Regions from separate parts of the Homo sapiens genome. Here regions 1 and 3 are each linked to region 2. Evidence: promoter capture Hi-C in 16 types of primary human blood cells and fetal thymus (Javierre and others, 2016). All regions are on one chromosome and are shown on one strand. The core of a region is centred on a gene start or on the middle of the fragment in contact, and the rest is flanking DNA. Distances in the headings are between cores, read along the strand shown.

Region 1 (2,726 bases), core at 224-2,723, 870 kb after region 2:
AAAGAAATTCACCCCAGTTTAATTGCAGGGAGGGGAGGGATGATTCAAGTTAGAAATGGGATGAGGCATTAATTATTCATTTTCCTTTGCTGGCAAAAAAAAATGGAGGATTTTAAATTTTTTTGTTCTCCTTTTACAGCCAGAAAAATCCTATTTGCTAATTCTAAACTTAATATTTTTTGAAAGGGTATCCTAGTGAGATATTGTTCATTGATATCAAATTTTAGTGAGCCACAGTTTCAAAGAGTTTTAATAAAAGACTATCAAAAGACTGGGTGTGGTGGCTCATGCCTGTAATCCCAGCACTTTGGGAGGCCGAGGCAGATGGATCACCTGAGGTCAGGAATTTGAGACCAGCCTGGCCAACATGGTGAAACCCCATCTCTACTAAAAATACAAAAAATTAGCCGGGCGTGGTGGCGGGTGCCTGTAATCCAAGCTACTGAGGAGGCTGAGGCCGGAGAATCACTTGAACCCAGGAGGCAGAGGTTGCAGTGAGCCAAGATCACGCCATTGCACTCCAGCCTGGGCAACAAGAGCAAAAGTTCATCTTAAAAAAAAAAAAAAAGACTATCATAAAACAATTACATTTTGTTTAAAAAAAAAGGAGTTTTTTTTGCATAAGCTTTATTACATAGGCAAAATTGGGTGACTTGAGGAGAAGCTGTTATATTGGCAAACCTTCTTCCCTCTCCAGATAGACGGTGATCTGGCATTTTCATATCATAGCTGTATGAGTGCAGCCTTGAGGGGACATGCCAGTCTAGTCGATGTGAAATCAATGGGATATTCCCGTTGGTTCATCTCTTCATACCATGCAGCCACAGATCCGTGATAATCCACACATACTATTGGCTGTCTAATTACAGAGCAAATAATATCCTCTTACTTGAAGGAATTTTTACTTGTGTTCAGAAAAATAACACATCTTTCAAAGTCATTCTGGTTTTGAGAAATACATTTTATAATAGAATGAGTCTCTGTCTTTCCTGGCAAGGCAGGTAGGGGGCACTAGTCTATTTTACTGAGGAAGCTGGGGCAAGAGCCAATAAGGGCTGCCCCTGTAATTATACATTCTCTGGGAATTAATCATTTTGCTCAATTCTAGGAAAAGTCTCTCAGTTCTTACCCAAGTGCTATTCTTATTTTAGGGAATAGCTAACTTACTTAGTTTTCTAATATAACCACAACAGATCAGAAGCAGTAAATTTTAAAAGGCTAACACTAAAAGCAGAAAGAAACAATGACTGAACAGTAAGTGAAAGGTGAAGCACTAAGAGGCAGACATTCTGGGATTCTTCTTAAAAAGCAGCATTCTGGGGCATTCGATGTAAGGAGGGGCGAACAGTCTTCACCCGTGACTGTTCCTTGTGCACTAGTGCCTTGTATTATGCTTCCGAGCAAGAAAAAGAAATTCTTTTCCCCATGCTCTGAATAGGAAGTCAAGGAAACATGCAGTTTATTTTAGCTTGCCAACAAAAACTACACACACACACACACACACACAGCTTAAGGTTATGTTAAAAAAAGGAATACTTTACTCCATTGTGCCAGATAAAGTTATTCTAACTCTGTTACATACTTCATGTTAGTACTTGGAAGACACCTTGGAAATACCTAGTACATTTCATCAGGTGTTGAGGGACTGAATAATACTGGTGTAAAGTTGAATTTTTCTAACTGTGTAAACCAGTGGGCTTGATAAGAGAGCTCAGCCGACGTTACGTCAGAAAGGGCCGTCCATAAAGTGGTTCTGCAAATGCTGATGTCAACCCAGGACACACAATTAGAGGCCTCAAAGAATATAACCACCTCACTTGTGCTACTACCCAGCCCTGTTTCACAGTGGTTGGGGATCAGAACCTCTTCAGGGAGTGTATGCATTGTAATTGTATCTGTTTATTCCTCCCCCCACCCCCACCACGCACACACTAGGCCATCAACTTCTAGTTGGGTAGGATTCATTTTTGTAACCTGGTGCCCTAGTGCCATCCCTGGCACTTACTATATGTTCAATAGATAATTCTTGAATAAAGAATACATAACCTGGTGAACAATACAGAGCAGGATCTCAGCAAATCCCAAATTGTGTGAAACTCATAATATCGAGCACAGGTGCCATAGGAGGTGGAGAAACATTCAGTGAGGCACCCACAGGCTCTGCGCTAAGCAGGATACAGAGTGGAGTAAGAGGCTGCCAAATCCCAAGGACCTCGCAGTCCTGTGATGGGGACAGATGCAAGAATGCCCCCGAGAACTGGAGAAGGGAATGGAGCTCTCGGAAAAAGCTCAGTCAGCGCCTAAGGGATAGGAAAAGCTTAGTAGGGGGTGACACTTGAACTGAGTTTTGAGAGAAGGGTAAAGTGCTTCTATATAAAAAGGAGGGACATTCCAGGAAGAGGGAGCAACCAGGGCAAAGGCACAGAGGCCCCTGGGTCCACTGGGAGAATGCCAGGCCGTTTCTTGAGAAATGCAGGACTGGACATAGCTGAGGGGAGGACAGATGGTAAGGGACTGGGCTCTCCTCCTCTGGATGAGGGAGAGTCCCAGGAGGAGTGTAAGCTGCAGAGTGCTTGAGAGATCACCCTTGCGGGAGTGTTGATGGATTGGAGGTGGCCGAGCTAACGGGGCCACTTAGGAGAGGGTCATCAGATTTAACCTTTGCAGGTATTGGGGTGGGGGCATGGGGGAAGGGCACTGCTGCAAGCTGAGTTCTTTGAAGGTAG
Region 2 (3,014 bases), core at 493-2,992:
CCCAAAGTGCTAGTATTACACCACGCCCACCCTAAATCTCTGTTTTTTGATGGATGCATTTTAGATGGTACACTGGGTTAAATAGCGTCTACCCCCACCAAATTCCTGTCCTCTTAGAACCTGTGAATGTGGCCTTATTTGGAAATAGGGTCTTTGCAGATGTAATCAAGTTAAAATGAAGCCATATTGGATAGGGTGAGTCCTCATCCAACAACTGGTGTCCTTATGAGAAGAGGGAAGTTTTGACACAGAGACACAGGGGAGAGAACACCATGTGAAGAAGGTGGCAGAGATTGGAGTCTACTGCCAAGGGGTGCCAAGAATTATTGGCAACTACCAGAAGCTAGGAGAGGGGCAAGCAACAGTTCTTCCCCTGGAGCTTCCAGTAGAAACCAACCCTGCTGACACCTTGATCTTGGACTTCTGCCCTCAAGAACTGCGAGAGAATAATTTCTGTTTTATAAGGTCATCCAGTTTGTGGCAATTGGTTACCACAGCCCTAGAAAACTAATACAGATTGTACGTACTGTAGCCTCATCCTATTTTAAGCAGATTTGTCCTGTTCGAAAGTGCAGTCATTAGCCTCAGAGAAGTCTGTCCAGGGTGAGATTAGATTTCTCTGTAGCTCTAGAGGACAGAATTCAGATGGACGGGTCCTACCCACAGGGAATGATAAAATCATGGCTTTCTTTTGACAACTGATCATATTAGCATGAAGGGCCCCAGAGCCCTTTTTCTGAATATCTTCATTTTCCAGGGATAAAGACACAGAAAGGTGAGGAAACTTAATGGAACTCGGGGACCCAAACAGTGTCTGGTCCATAATAGATGCTCAAAAACCATATATTGAAGGGATGGATGAATGAAAAACGCTTCATGGGCAATATAAAAATTTGATTTACTCACGCCTGTAATCCCTTTTGGATTTACTCGGCCTGTAATTTGGGAGGCCGAGACGGGTGGGTCACGAGGTCAGGAGATCGATCGAGACCATCCTGGCTAACACAGTGAAACCCCGTCTCTGCTAAAAATACAAAAAATTAGCCGGGCGCGGTGTCGGGCGCCTGTAGTCCCAGCTACTCGGAGGCTGAGGCAGGAGAATGGCGTGAACCCGGGAGGCGGAGCTTGCAGTGAGCCGAGATCGCGCCACTGCACTCCAGCCTGGGCGACAGAGCAAGGCTCCGTCTCAAAAAAAAAAAATTGATTTATTTTCTCGTTTAGCTGCCTGCTTCAAAATCGATGGAAGGGTAGAAAGAGAACCTAGGAGGGGGCAAGAGACCTGGAGTCTCTGTCCAGGTTCTGGCCTCAACTCTCTATGTGATCTTGGGCAAGTCCCTGCCTCTTAGCCTCAGTTTCCCCTCATTAAAAGGAGGAACAGGGGATGGACCAGTGATTTCCAGACACCTGAGCTTCCATGTAGAATCTCTTGACCAGCCTGGGTGCGGACTGGGGTCCAGGGGGCATTGGTGGTGCCCAGGACGCGGGACCCTCCCTGAGGAAAGGCCCCGACAGCGCCCTGGGGCGCAGACCCTCGCTGGGTTTGCGGACCGGGGGCCGAGGGCTGGGAGCTGAGAGCTGGCGTGAGGCTCTGGGCCGCCGCCGCCGCTCACCTTCCCGATGTTTCCGCTGCTGTAGGAATCCAACAGGTTTATAAACACCCTCTGGGTCCGGATAACCTTCTCCGTGAGAGCAGCAGTTTCCTCTTCTTCAGCCATGGTGGGAGCCGCGCTGGTTGCTAAGGTGAAAGCGCCACTCGCTTGCCAAGGAGGCGGGGCCCGGGCCAGGGAGGCGGGGCAGGTTCTCTCTGGGGGCGGGGCCTTGGCTCCGGGCAGTTTGCCGGGCGGGGAGGGGCGTGTCGTGGGCGAAGCAGGGAGTGCCGGGCGGGGCGGTGCGTGTCGTGCCCGGCGCTAATCAGGGCGTGCCAGGCGGGACGGGGCAGGCTGTGCCGGTCGCTGGGCGGGGCGTGCCGGGTAGGGCGGGGCGAGTCGTGCCGGGGGGTTGGGCGGGGCATGCCGGGCAGGGCGGGGTGTGTAGTGCAGTGGGCTGGGCGGGGCGCGCCGGGCGAAGCGGGGCTCAGGGCTCGCAACTGCGCGCGCTGTCGGCTGCTGGGCGCCAGGCGGATGTCCCTGCGAGTGCTTTCCGCGGCGCCGCGCGTGCAGCCCGGGTCTCACCCTGGCTTGCTGCCCACTGGGAGCCCTTGGGCAGTGCATGGTTTCTTTCCGAAGCTCCCTGGGCGTCTGTCCCGGGGGGCCATGTGATTGCTGTGCCTTTTTAATCTCCATTGTTCGGAAAGTCTGGAAACACATCCCTGTGTCCGCTTGACCCGATGACTAAAAATAATGAGAATTCTGAAGAAGAGGGAATGGCCCACAGCCTAGGCCTCTCCCCGACACGTGGGAGTTACTCAGCACGCTCCCATGGGGTGGTCTGGCCGGGGCGACGGGACGTAAGCCTCAGCTGCGAAGAAAAGCTGTTGCCATGGAGTTTCGGGCTCCCGAACACCCGAGCGACGCTAGCGTGGTCCCGCCTTGCGGCAGGTGCGGCTTGGTCCGCCGGCTCAGCTCCCTTGGGGGTTGTTTCCAGACGCACGTTCCGGGAAGACCCCTGGTGTCGGCTGGGGGCGACCAGAGCCCGTAGGCGCCCGGGATTCGCTCACATTCACCAAGGGAAGAAATTTAGACTTGACCGTTCCACAAGAGATTATACATGCAGTTGCTGAGATAAATCCACAAATTAAAAGATAACATTCACCTCGGTGATCACTGGACCATAAAGGTTGTGGTGGACTAAGAATACGCAGTTCCCTTGGAATAGCCTGATCATATTGAACTGTTTTCATGCCTTAAGCATTAACTCCTTAAATGCAAATATTTAACACTTGCAGCAATTGTGTGTGCGTGGTTTCTTCTCGTTCTTTTTATTATTTTTAATAGAGACAGGGTCTCACTATGTTTGTTGCCCAGGCTAGTCTCTAACTCCGGAGCTCAAGAAACTCTCCTGCCTCGTCCTCCCAA
Region 3 (3,087 bases), core at 7-2,506, 840 kb after region 2:
CTAAAAAAAGGCAATTTTTAATAAATGGAGATAAAAGTTAAAAAAAGGAATACAGCATTTGCTTATTTATATATATTTATTTCACTAACATATATATTGTCAATAATAATGTAAAGACTGATGATTGCGCTAATTGTATAGGGAACAGTGAGAAGTAGGGTAGATTGATGATTATATGAGAGCATTCTTATCTATCAAAATGGCAAAGAGATTAGATAATATCTGATTTATTAGCAAAGAAATAGCAATATAAGCACATTAAAAAATATTGGCTAGGTGCAGTGGCTCACGCCTGTAATCCCAGCATTTTGGGGTCCACCCAGCAGGTGGGTGGATCTCTTGAGCCTAGGAGTTTGAGGCTAGCCTGGCAACACAGTGAGACCCCATCTCTTCTAAAAATACAAAAAATTAGCTGAGCGTAGTGGCACACACATGTATTCCCAGCTACTTGAGAGGCTGAGGTGGGAGAATCGCCTGAGCCTGGGAAGTCGAGGTTACAGTGAATCGTGATTGCACCACTGCACTCCAGCCTGGGCAACAGAGTGAGACCCTGTCTCAAAAAACAAAACAAAACAAAAAAAGAAAGGAAGAGAAAGGAAAATGAAATATGGAGGGAAACAGAAGAAACTGCTTAAGAAATGGAAATTTGTTTCCTATAGAGAGCAGGACCCATGGATCAAAAGGCAGGAGAGTGCTGTTTTTCATTATTACTGTAGTTTTTAAAGTATCATTTGACTAATTATATGCATGCATTGTTTTATTAAAAACGAGGTTAAAATTTCAAATGAATGGGATACTAAAAGCTTATACCCTATTTGACCATGTTTCTGATAACCGCAGGTAACAAAAGGACAACTGTGACCAAGGAAAAGGCTGGGGGGTGGCGGGCAGACAGAGGAAGGTGGGGGCAGCAGCAAGGGCTAGCAGAGGGACACTGCCAGGAAGTGAGAACTTGGGGCAACAGGTGGCCCTGAGTATGGGTAGAAATATCTGACCCCACCCAGGGCTGTGACCGAGGTCGGACGGAAGTGCAGGGAAAGACCAGCAGACCGCGGGAACTCGCTCGTAAAGCACTTTGTTTACTTCCTGCTGTCTGGAATTTCAGAGTGAAGTCCAGTGGGACCTCTGGCCTGGCCACCTGTCCGCACAACACACGGGGCCCAGGAGGCTTTCCCTGGCATCATTTGCAAGGAGGCATCATTTGCATTCACCTTCCATTTGTCTGACCTCAGAGGTGGGACCCTCTGCTTCCTTCACATACTTGATAGTGGATGGCCAGGGGCAACTTCCAAAATTCCTGGCCTCCCTGGCTCTTTCAACAGGCAACTGAAGCTCAAATTCAGTTCTTCTCAGGGCTGCAGGGCGAACACTCTGGACACCACAGCCAGAGCTGCACTAAGCGGCTGCACTCACTGAGCCGGCCCTCCGAAGGGTGCTACAATATGGATCTGATCACAGCTCAAATTCCACCAGGTAGTGACCTTGGACAAGTAACCTGACCCCCTCCCAGTCTCTGTGTCATCATCTGAAAGGAAGAGAGAATATCCCACATTTGCAGATCTTTGGTGAGAAACAAATTACGGATCTAAATGCTCAATAATTGTTTGACCCTTCCCCCTGTCTGCTTATACCAAGTAAGCATCCACCATAAAATCCAGGCAGCCAGGTGTATTAGTCTCCTTTTGCCGCTGTAACAAATGACAAGCTTAGTGGCTTAACACCAATTTTTAATCTTACAGGGCAGGAGGTCAGAAGTCTAAAATGACTTTCACTGGGCTAAAATCATGGCCTGTGTTCTTTCTGGAGACTCCAGGGGAGAATCCGTTTCCTTGGCTTTTCCAGCTCTAGAGACTGCCTGCGATCTTTGGCCTGTGGCCCCTTCCGCCCTCTTCAGAGTACATCACTCCAACCTCTGCTTCCCTCCTGCCCAGGACACCTGTGATTACATTAAGCCCACCCAGGTGATCCAAGACAATCTCTCTATCTCAAGATCCTGAACTTAAACACAGCTTAAACTTACCCCAGGTAACACAGTCACACATTCCAGGGATTAGGACATGGACATCCCACCACACTTTGTACGAAGTGCACCTGAACTGAAGTAACTTAGTCAGGTGTAACTGACACTGCCCCTTGCCCTCTGCTCTCCCAAGAATCATTTTAAGGAGACTTTACTAAGGAATCATGGAAAAAAGTTAAAAAACAACTTAAAGGCCAGGCGCGGTGGCTCATGCCTGTAATCCCAGGGCTTTGGGAGGCCCAGGCGGGTGGATCACGAGGTCAGGAGTTTGAGACCAGCCTAGCCAACATGGTGAAACCCCGTCTCTACTAAAAATACAAAAAATTAGCTGGGCATGGTGGCAGGTGCCTGTAATCCCAGCTACTCAGGAGGCTGAGGCAGGAGAATAGCTTGAACTCAGGAGGCAGAGGCTGCAGTGAGCCGAGACCGCGCCATTGCACTCCAGCCTGGGTAACAGAGAGAGACTCCATCTCAAAAACAAACAAAAAACAAAAGAATTTAAGAAGCCAGAATAACAGGAAGTGTGCTGCTAGTTTCCCAGGATTACAATTTACTTGTAAATGTACTGAAGAACTCTGAAGTTCTCCTTGAGATTTGAAATATTTTAATACCTATGTCAGACTCTGACAGCACCCTAACGCCCCCAAGATCAGGGCAAGGGGTGAGGGGTATCTGACACCCAGCTGAAGTCTCAGCCTCTGCCCAGCCTGGGTCTGGAGCCAGAAGAGGTCCCCATAGACTCGGGCTCAGCATGGCCTCCCCAGGAAGGTTGCTTCATCGGTGGTGGTGATGATCAAAGCTGATAGCTTGCTCAGGACTAGTGAAGACACATCAATAATCTGGAAATACTTTCCATATTTGCTCACCAAATTTCCTAGGAACCGGCGAACATTTCTACCTCCTTTTTCTGGCAAAACGAATCCCTGTGAAAATGGCTAATGAGGTACAGTAGAACCCAGTGTCACAATCCTTGCTACTGCTAAATTAGAATTAGCTCAAGGTTAAACTGCATTCTTTGAAGCATAACTCAACACAATAACTGTCTAACATATCGGTTCAGAAAAGAC

Evidence for each region. The method cuts DNA at HindIII sites, captures the fragments that hold promoters and counts their contacts. A CHiCAGO score of 5 or more calls a contact.
Region 1: a contact is called between a fragment that was not itself captured here and the fragment with the promoter of AK7 in region 2, in 1 of 17 cell types (neutrophils). The highest score is 5.5, in neutrophils.
Region 3: a fragment that was not itself captured here is called in contact with the fragment with the promoter of AK7 in region 2 in 1 of 17 cell types (neutrophils); the score reaches 6.0 in neutrophils.

Annotation. Positions count from the first base shown.
Region 1 is chr14:95,525,862-95,528,587 of GRCh38, reverse strand. No RefSeq gene overlaps it. Among named protein-coding and RNA genes, the nearest start is that of SNHG10, 7.6 kb to the left of the region's middle. The HindIII fragment of the contact is 1,692 bases long and covers 628-2,319 here.
Region 2 is chr14:96,390,856-96,393,869 of GRCh38, reverse strand. It overlaps AK7 (adenylate kinase 7), which reads right to left and starts at 1,742. Exons shown (of 18, transcript NM_152327.5): 1 at 1,611-1,742. The coding sequence starts at 1,715. RefSeq lists a silencer at 1,673-2,182. The HindIII fragment of the contact is 12,427 bases long and covers 1-3,014 here.
Region 3 is chr14:95,548,426-95,551,512 of GRCh38, reverse strand. No RefSeq gene overlaps it. Among named protein-coding and RNA genes, the nearest start is that of GLRX5, 15 kb to the right of the region's middle. RefSeq lists an enhancer at 2,855-3,087. The HindIII fragment of the contact is 902 bases long and covers 806-1,707 here.